Regions from separate parts of the Homo sapiens genome. Here region 2 is linked to region 1. Evidence: promoter capture Hi-C in 16 types of primary human blood cells and fetal thymus (Javierre and others, 2016). All regions are on one chromosome and are shown on one strand. Each heading gives the region's core, a stretch centred on a gene start or on the middle of the fragment in contact. The rest is flanking DNA. Distances are from core to core; before and after follow the strand shown. Region 1 holds the start of PLSCR5 (phospholipid scramblase family member 5). Region 2 has its middle 86 kb from the start of PLSCR2.

Region 1 (5,212 bases), core at 1,623-4,122:
TGGCTATTGGCTAGAAAGAGAACATTATAGAATCTAGAAATGTCTATATCTTGATCTTGGTGGTGGTCATGAATGGGTCCTTATTTTAAAAATCATGGAGCCTAGGTTTTGTGCTCTATGTACTTCACTGCACATATTATCTCTCAATTAAAAACCATGTGTAGGGATTAATTTCTAACAATAGCTAGTATAAGATTTTTAGATTCTCTCTCATTGTAAACTTAATTGTTAAAGGGATTCACAAATTACCCCAATTTTATCTTGTAAATTATGTTTGCTGTAACAAAATGCAGTAGGTTATGGAGGGTTTGGCAAGTAGCTGTACATTCCCGCCCAGTCCTGGAGGGCCTTAGACTTCACAGCAAGTCCAGAAGCATTAATGCACTTGGAGCTCAGAGGATATTGTGTCCAAAGTCTTTATTTAGGAGTAGAGTGTGAGTGAGTCTCTGCCTGAGACTGTTGAGAGACATCACTATTCTGAGATCACTAGCTGCTTCTTCTGGGATTTTAGTTCACATTGAAGCAACCTTTGGAGACAGCTCTTGCTCAGTTCAGATCACCGTGTTTGAGAGCAACTTGCTCTTAAATTGTGTTAATTTCTACTAAGCCAGGATGCTCCAGCTCACACAAATGTCTCTTCAGTTCTAATGGCACCTGGTATTTAGACTGTCTTTTGGTTTAGTAGTGCTGATTGATCTGCCTATGAAATATGTGAAATGTACAATTAGTCTGCATTCCCTGGGAAAATGCTAATTGCCAATATAGTTACTGGACAAGAAAACATGATGTTATAAATAATGTGTTTATATACAGCTGAAGAAAACTATCCACAAAAATGTTTTACTTAGATAATGGTGATAATTTGACTTGCCCTCTTAAACAAGATATCTAATTCACAAGAAAGCTTCATTATCACTTATATTCTCCTAGGTAGTATGAAGTCTCTAATAGGTGTTTTATCCTTCCATGCATTAAATATTTTGAGCCGGTTGCAGAAGGAGGGTCAGTTTTCCACCTGAAGTTTTGCTTCTAAGTTTAGACTTGGGTCTTTATCATTATGGAACATCACTGCTTCCTGTTAGATTAATCATATTTTGACATAATATTACTTTCCAGTCACAAGTTTCTTCAAAGACTCAGACAACCAGATGAAGAAGGAACTCCTTTGAATTTCGTACTGGCTTTGAATTTCTATCTACTCTTTTAAAAATGTATAACTAGCTTATAAATATTTTATACACTCTGCAACTTTTTACCTTACAGTCTACAGTATTGCTGTAACTCTTATTTTATAAAGTGATGAAGTATTTTGGACTAAATAGTAGTGTCAGTCTTAAATGAAAGGAAATATTTGTCAAGGTTTTTTGTTTATTTGTCTTCAGATAGAAAAAAATGACACATATGTTAAATTCATGATTTTGCTATTTCACATCTATGTTTTACAATTTGTGTGAGCTTTCTCAGTGATTCTGAGGGACTGAGGGACTGGTCTACATTAAAGATTGATAAAAAATGGAAAGATTATCTCATTTGTTTCATATTAAATAGTGACCAAAAGTGTGTTTTGATAAAGGAAGCAAGTAAGCATACACATTTGTTTGAATGGATCACTAATTTAGGATATTACAAATTGATGAGCCCTATTATCCTATTTGTAATTAATTTAAAAGGTTTTCACCAATTATACTAATTATAATTCTTCATGCTAAAACTTTTCATTATAGCCTAGGCTTTAGTGGTTCATTCTGACAATGAAATGAAAGCACATTATAATTTTATTTCTTACACAGTTTCACAAGTGTTTTTAGTGAGATTGCAACTTACTTTAAAAACAACTACATCTCTTGTCTTTTTAGACCTTCTTTAAAGTAAGATAACGTAATGATATTTTTGCAGTTTTAGGAATTTGAGAAAAAACTCATCAGTCCTACTCCCCAAAAGTCTGCTAAGTGATCTGTGCGCTTAAAGCAGATATTTTCTGTTTGTTTTCTATCTTTAATTTACCATAAGGAAATTTCAAGATATTTTTGCTTTATAATTCAGAAATACTTATTTCTAGCCCATCACATTTAAGAATCAATAATAACGCATGTCAGATTCTTTATAATAAATGGCTATATCACATAATTTGAATAACAAATGGGAAAATAAAACTTAGAGAGTGTAACTGGATTGTCTGTAACTCAAAGGCTGAATGCTTGATGGGATGGATATCCCATTCCCCTTTATGTCCTTAATTCACATTGCCTGCTTGTATGAAGACATCTCATGTATCCCATAAGTATATATACCTACTATGTACCCACATAAATTTTTAATATTTTAATTAAAAAAATTATTAAATTGCACTTTAACACTTTCTAACTTATGTGTGAAAAGTTTTCTTCAAATCCTTTTAAACTTAAAATATCACCCTGTCCTTGTGTTTAACATTGAAGATTCCCATTCTAAACTTTGCTATGCAGCTTTTCTTATTAATTCACTATGTTTGTATTCATGATAACTAAAACATCGTTTACATCTGAACTTTTACAGTCTGTCAGATAAAGTGTTTTTACATGTAACTCAACATGCTCCTGGGAGTTAAGATTTTAAAATCACAATGTTCAAAAGTGACAAATGACAGCTTTTAAAGTACCAATCTAACTGGTTGTAACACATCCACAATTGTATATTTTTAGTCTTAATATAAGAAAAAGTTATTAGTTGGTTATATTTACTCTTACCTTTAGAGGCCATGAAGATGTCTGAGTCACTTCTTCAAAGGTTGCCAGGTTGGAAAACAAAGGCTTTTCTTGTTGCAGCAAGGAGAGAAAACGCAGCATGCACAAAACTTCAGAACGTGTTTGTCTGCCTCTTGTCAGCTTACATATAACAGAGGAAGGGAGTCCCTTGCTGTTTCTAGACTTCTGGACTTTATCAGTTTGGACAACAGAGTGAGATGAAACTGTCACAAAAGTAAACGCTGTTCAGAAACCATCATATAACTTTGGTGGCTGAAGGAACAATTTAAAAATAATAAAAACCAGAAAGGAAAGCACACAGCACTCATTTTAAGTGTCTTTTTTTTTTTTACCAAGTTGTTTTTGTATTTCTTAGAATATACACATTTGCATTCAGTCTTATATCAGAAATATCCTGTATTTCTCAATTTCTAGAAGTCTCCTTTCCAGATTCTGTGATAAAACATCCTATTGTATAAATTTTTGATAGTTCTAAATACAATTCTTTACATGTTGAAAATGTTTGAACATTATTATTGTTATTTTTCTATTGGATTTATCTCCATCTCTTCAACTCAAAATAAATAAGAAGAGGATATATTCCCTACTATTATATAAATAAATCTTTATTTTCATTTTTAATTGAATTTGATTAATCAGAGGCATTGGAATATACAAACCTTCAATAGCCTTGCAAAGCTAATCAAAATTTACAGATGATATTTAACTGCATTGAATTCTAAGGAAAGAAAACAAGTGCTGTAACCTTGACTGGACAGCTCCTATTTCTAAATGCAGCTACCCAGGTGACCATGGAGATTTTGCTCACCAAGTCAATTGCCCTACATGGTATGATTCACAAAGGTTGAACATGCAGGATATATTGCATTATCAGCAACACTGTCTTTTTCTGAAAATAGTTAAGAGGCTTCAGGAGGTATACCTTGTGATGAAAAATTATAAAGTCAACCTCACAGTTTGCAGACTGCCAAAAGTTTGAGTTTTCCTTATTTGACAAAGAGGAGTGGTTTTGTTGTTGTAGTTTTCTTAGTGTTTGGAGTTGAAAAAAGCTACCATTATTTAAGTTGTCGTTTTGCAGAAAAGATGTGTGAATATGATTAATATTTTTAAATTAAACTGTATGTTTCCTAAGTTTTTTCTAATGTTTGTCGTGAGCATTTAGAAAAACTTTAATACAAAAAATTAAGTTATTAACACTATCAAAGAAGATTAAAAAAATTTTTTTTATTATACTCTAAGTTCTACGGTACATGTGCACAACGTGCAGGTTTGTTACATATGTATACATCTGCCATGTTGGTGTGCTGCACCCATTAACTCATCATTTACATTAGGTACATCTCCTAATGCTATCCCTCCCCTCTCCCCCCACCCCACAACAGGCCCCGGTGTGTGATGTTCCCCTTCCTGTGTCCATGTGTTCTCACTGTTCAATTCCCACCTGTGAGTGAGAACATGCGATGTTTGGTTTTCGGTCCTTGCGATAGTTTGCTGAGAATGATGGTTTCCAGCTTCATCCATATCCCTACAAAGGACATGTACTCATCATTTTTTATGGCTGCATAGTATTCCATGGTGCATATGTGCCACATTTTCTTAATCCAGTCTATCATTGTTGGACATTTGGGTTGGTTCCAAGTCTTTGTATTGTGAGTAGTGCGCAATAAACATACGTGTGCATGTGTCTTTGCTCAGCAAAAGGAACTACCATCAGAGTGAACAGGCAACCTACAGGATGGGAGAAAATTTTTGCAATCTACTCATCTGACAAAGGGCTAATGTCCAGAATCTACAAAGAACTCAAACAAATTTACAAGAAAAAAACAAGCAACCCCATCAAAAAGTGGGTGAAGGATATGAACAGACACTTCTCAAAAGAAGACATTTACGCAGCCAACAGACACATGAAAAAATGCTCATCATCACTGGTCATCAGAGAAATGCAAATTGAAACCACAATGAGATATCATCTCACACCAGTTAGAATGGTGATCATTAAAAAGTCAGGAAACAACAGGTGCTGGAGAGGATGTGGAGAAATAAGAACACTTTTACACTGTTGGTGGGACTGTAAACTAGTTCAACCATTGTGGAAGACAGTGTGGCAATTCCTCAGGGATCTAGAACTAGAAATACCATTTGACCCAGCCATCCCATTACTGGGTATATACCTAAAGGAATATAAATCATGCTGCTATCAAACAAGATGTTTTGAAATGTGGTCAGAATTCACCAGTTAATTTTGACTGCCCTACACAGCACAAATTTTGGAATAAAAATAAAAATCTTAGTGAATTAAACATATTTGTGAACTCTCCAAAGACAACCATATATGACTTGGGCATATGATGACATGGGCATATGACTGACTGATGGGATCTTTTAATATTTAATCTGCAGTGGAGGCTTTTCAGATCATCGAACCTGGTAATGCTACTGGTGAGGTATACTCAATGCATTTTTCTTCC
Region 2 (5,212 bases), core at 1,484-3,983, 220 kb before region 1:
AGGCTCACAACAGGGGTGCCCCACTTACTTGGCCAACTATGCTCAACCCCTTGAAGGAGGCAGCACATGAGCAGGTTTGTGAGGGATCGAGCCAGCCATTCCAGGTGCCAGCAGGAGCAAGCTCTGTGCAACAGTGCCCAGGTGGGGTGCCTGTGACCCTGAGGCCCCAGAAGAGGTGATACAATGCTCCTTTAGTTCCGCTGGTTATGGATGGCTATGTGTTAACAGCTCATTTGGCCCCTTGCCTCATCATGTGGGGCGGCTTCCCTCCACCAGAGAGGGCAAAGGGCTAGTGTGACAGCCTTTTTTGGGTACCTGCACTCAGTGGGTCCTGAGCTCTTGCCTGGTGTCCAAGAAGAATGAGGTCGCATGGACACTTGAAGGATGCTGAACGTGAATAATTTTATTGAGCAATGGGAATGGCTCTCAGTGGAGAGGAGAGCTGCAGAGGGAATGGAAGGGCAGATAGCTCTCCCTGAAGTTCAGCCGTGTCTTCCCCAAAATCAAGCCATCTCTTCATTGCCAAAGTCCAGCCATCTTGTCTCCAAAGTCAAGCCATCTTGCTGAAGTCAAGCTGCCTCTCTCCCTTTACTGACTAAGTCTAGGGTCTTTATAGGTGAAGGATAGGAATGGGTTAGGCCATAGGTAGTTTTGGAAAAGGCAACATTCGATTGGTAAAACTACATTATTCAGAAAATACTAATCAGGAGAGAATAGGCAAACAAGAATAGAAATTCTCATTTTGGGCCACAGGTTTCAGGCTACTTTGGCTTGAATGTGGGATTTCACTGGACATCTGCCCCTATCTGCCTAGAATTTCTCTGCCTCCTGCCTCTACTAATGGTACACAACAGCAAACATCACACAATGCAGGTAGGAACTCACAGGCTAAGGGTGAGCAGGAACACACGTCTCTGGCTTTGCAATAGTCTGGAGAGATGTGCTTAGACCATGGGACTGGGTGCTGACAGAGGTCATCTGCCTTCTGCTGCTGTCTATTTTTAATTGAGTAAGTATAGCAATGATGTTTCTCAGGGGAATAGATACTTTAAGGTTTGGAGAAAGTTTTCTAACGATGTGCTGGAAAAAGCCAGCTCTCTAGCACTTGGAGACGGTGAAGAAATTTGCTGGGCCACCCAGAGAGACTGCTCCAGCACTCCTTTTCTTCATATAATTAAAGGACAAAATATAAGTAACATATTGTTAAAATAGTAAAGCATTACATAAATTAATTGAGTCTCTCTCTGAATAGCAAAAGGTAATAATGAAATACTGAAATGAAGAGTACGATTTTCTGTGTGGAGATTATAAAACACACATGAATATTATGTTCTAAATCTTCAATAGATGACTTCTATTGAAGTATTTTATTCATTCATTTATTTTTAGAGATGAGGTCTCACTCTGTCATGCAGGCTGGAGTACAGTGGTGCAATCATACCTGACTCTAATCTCAAACTCTTGGGCTCGCAGGATCCTGCTACCTCCTAAGTCACTGGGATTACAAGCATAAGCCACTGCACTCAGCTATTTAAATATTTTAAAATCCAATCTTAAAATAATCTTTTTAACGGTGAATCTTTAGTGCACAACTGGGGTGAGTGGTGAAATCAATGGCCAAGGAAATTAAAATAATAATTGAAAATGAACAAATTGTTTTACTTTAATAAAATTATATTTCTAAAATCAGCAGCAATATTTGAAAGCCACTACTTTGGATACATTCTTTTTTAAATAATAAAATCAGTTTTTTGTATATTCAGCAGAAGAAAATTTACATGTATATTTGTATATAATATTGGAGATTAAGTGGAAGTTTTAATTTGCATGGCCATATTTCAATGAGGAAGTAGAAAATTTTACATCTTGTTCAATATACAGTAGGTAATATGTGATAGAGCTAGAACTCAGATCTGCATGTGCTGTAGTTCAAAGCTATGGTTTCTCATTCTAGAAATATTTAGCTTGCTACAGTACACAAAGCGATACTGCCCTCTGGCCACTGCTGGCTTCATAGGCCTGATTGCCAGGTAGTCACATAGGACCCTGTGCTTGCATTAATGTGCTGCTGTTTCCATCCTGAATTCTTAATAATATTTGAAGAAGGAACATCACATTTTAGTTTTCACTGAGCTCAACAAATTATGTAGCTAGTCCTGCTTCTGGAAAATATCTTAACATCTCTTAAAATAGTCTCTGTGTTTGTAATGAATGTGATACAACCTATTCTAATTAATAAGAAAAATTGTCGCTGGACAACCATAAGACTGATCCATTTCTTTTCATTATTGGTAAAACAGCTTTACCTCTCAGATATCAGTTTCTCTTACCTATGACAATTGCACTTATTGACCCCAAATGTGCTTGCTTGTTGCTGAAGAGCTCTCTACCCATAATGATGCTTTCTGAAAGTTCTCCAAAGGAAAATACTCTACTGAGCCCTTCTGTAGCTGCCTAGAATGCTCTTCATTTGGTTTATGCAAACCTCTTAGCAAACCACAGGGGCAGTTGCAACTTTCTCTAGTTTACTGAGGGGATACTTTGGCCCTTCTTGCATCTATCTTCAAAATACTAAGTCTATGGGAAAGAGAGACAAAGAGGTGTTAAAACACTATCGATAAACTATATCTCCTATCTAGAAAGAATGTACAATTTTGATCTCGTGGTGTTTCTGTAGCACATTATGTAAATGTCTTTAATAGCCCTATCACCTCGTAGAGTTGTTGTTGGTTTAATTGTGTTTCTCCTCCCCTACTAGGCTCCTTAAGTAGTAGGATACAGCCTTGATCATCTATTTTTTTTTTATCTTTAGAGCCTGAAATGTAGCCCAAACTTTCATGGAGTGTTTATTAAAATGAAATGAAATAAAATGCCAAAGTTCCCCCTTTATTCAATGACTTTGGCAGTATATATTTCAATGACAATTATGCATATTTTCAGGTGAGTTATGTAGAAACTTCCCCAAACTAAAACTAATGAATCCTCAAAACAGATATGTAAGTGCTTCATTACCTAAAAGCAATGTTTCCAATTAGTTTCTGCTTCTGGGTTTTATTTTCCCAATGTGATTTAGCTAATGTTTTAGCTAAAGAGAAAGTGATCCACTTATTAATGTCCTAGCATAAGATAAAGTGAAACACTATTAGCATAAATCTTTCTCCAATAGCATTTGACAAAAACCATTGATAATTAGGTAGGCAACTACAAATTGATTTGTCAGACAGCAGGATCATAAAATGCCTTTTGTCCTTTTCTCATTTGATTTTCTTTGTCCTGGAATACTGCACTTATATATGAAATTAGTGTCTCTTGAATGACACAATGTGATTGAGGCCATCTTCATTGTAACGAAATAATTTTTCTACATTAATAAATGTTTTATATATATTATAATATGTAATATATCTAAATTTATAGTTTCAGAACAATTTTTATAACTATATATAGTTTTATAAGTAATAGAATCAATCTTCAAACTCATTAATCAGGTTAATAAAAATCTCAGCAACTGAAAACTATAATTAAATTTATTCAATCTGATAAGAGTATCTAGATGTTTCAGTTACACTTATGGGTATGTTATTAATATGCATATTCCAAATTTGGATAAAACTCTTAGAAATCTAATATGTTATCCATCATAATTGTGGCTACCATATTGTATGCCACAAAAATAACTAAATTATCTTGTCAAATGCTGATTATAATAAACTTCCACCAGATTTTTAACCATGGCTATTCTAAGTTTTTGTCACTCACAGTGATTATTTTGAACTCTTCTCTGAAAGCATGTGCAATCAGATTCAAGGAAAGACTAACAAGTATTTGTATGTCCTCTTAAATATAGGTTTCTAATATATTTAAGATCAATGGGCAAAATAAATTTTTTTCAAAACTTTAATGAAGAAACTGATGGGTTCATAAAATTTCTAATCAAGAACAAGCAGAACAAAAATTAATTACATGAGATTGGACAACTAGTGAAGATAATGTTTTTATGACATTTAAAACATTGTTGACTCTTTATTAAATTTTTTTTCCAAATGTAAGAAATTTTTGTTCTCTCAAACTATTTGAACTTTACAGAAATTTGGTAAAATATACATCTGAAAACAAAGATAGAAGGAATTGCTTTTTCTCCTTCTTTGATTCCACCAAAATTCAAAAGTGTTCATGATTATTCTCATGACAATATGGTTATTTGCATAAGTCCAGTAAAAATCTGCTCTCTCTATATAGCAGGATACAATTGGAAACATTGTTTATATTACCAAGTCTTTGACTGAAATACCACTTTTGAGAATGCCTGGTTTCAAGGGTTCCTTACAGTACAGCCTTTTTATCTTCCTAGCAGATAAAAATGGTTACTTCTTGGCAGGCCCAGAAACCTTAAAGAGTGTATGTAAAATCTAAAGTCTGCCTTGGTTTGGCTTCCTAGTCTCAAGAGGTTTTCTGAGATTCCTTTATAATCAACATACAGGAAAAAACATATTTCCAAAGAAAAGCCACAATACATCTATTATCAAACTGTAGCCCTGTGCATTGTTTTCAAGTTCTTGCTATCTACCAATAGACTAGACTAGATCCTGGATTCTTTTACATTCTTCCAATCCAACTTTCTTTCATGGAGTTATTAAAATTGGGAACTGCTGTGTTCTTAATGCCTTATATGCTAAAACTACAATAATTTTAAGGAGCAAGACTTGTACCTATTGGCCACACAAAAAGTTTACCAAACCCACCTGATGCCATAACCAAGAGACACTCAAATTGCAAACCGGGACAAGAAGATGACATTTTCATGCAGTAGACAGTTTTCCACAGATGCCAGAGCAAGACTCCATGTCATAATGAGACTCTTACCCCTCTTAATGCCTACCTTTTTCACTTGGCAGGATAATAGATAATCTGATTCACTCAATTAGTTGCCTTTAAGTCTAGATTCATGGCTCTAAACCATTATGCAAATGGAGATTGTTATATGACTATTAATTTTACTTTGTATTTTCCATTTTTAAACTTTATATTTGCCACTTGTTAAAATTCTGCAGAAGTACAACTCTTAACAAAATAATACTGGCCCAGCTCTTTGAGATGATAGCAAAAGACTACAGAAGAGATGAAATTGAACTTAATAATGAACTCTAGGTAGGCTTAGCCTGAGAGCCACTTCCTTCAAACCACCATTGTTGTTCAAATGCAGTTAAAAGAG

The links. The method cuts DNA at HindIII sites, captures the fragments that hold promoters and counts their contacts. A CHiCAGO score of 5 or more calls a contact.
Region 2: a contact is called between a fragment that was not itself captured here and the fragment with the promoter of PLSCR5 in region 1, in 1 of 17 cell types (monocytes). The highest score is 7.0, in monocytes.

Annotation. Positions count from the first base shown.
Region 1 is chr3:146,602,474-146,607,685 of GRCh38, forward strand. PLSCR5 (phospholipid scramblase family member 5) reads right to left here and starts at 2,873. Exons shown (of 8, transcript NM_001085420.2): 1 at 2,727-2,873. The coding sequence starts at 2,739. The HindIII fragment of the contact is 8,012 bases long and covers 903-5,212 here.
Region 2 is chr3:146,380,587-146,385,798 of GRCh38, forward strand. No RefSeq gene overlaps it. Among named protein-coding and RNA genes, the nearest start is that of PLSCR2, 86 kb to the right of the region's middle. The HindIII fragment of the contact is 7,777 bases long and covers 1-5,212 here.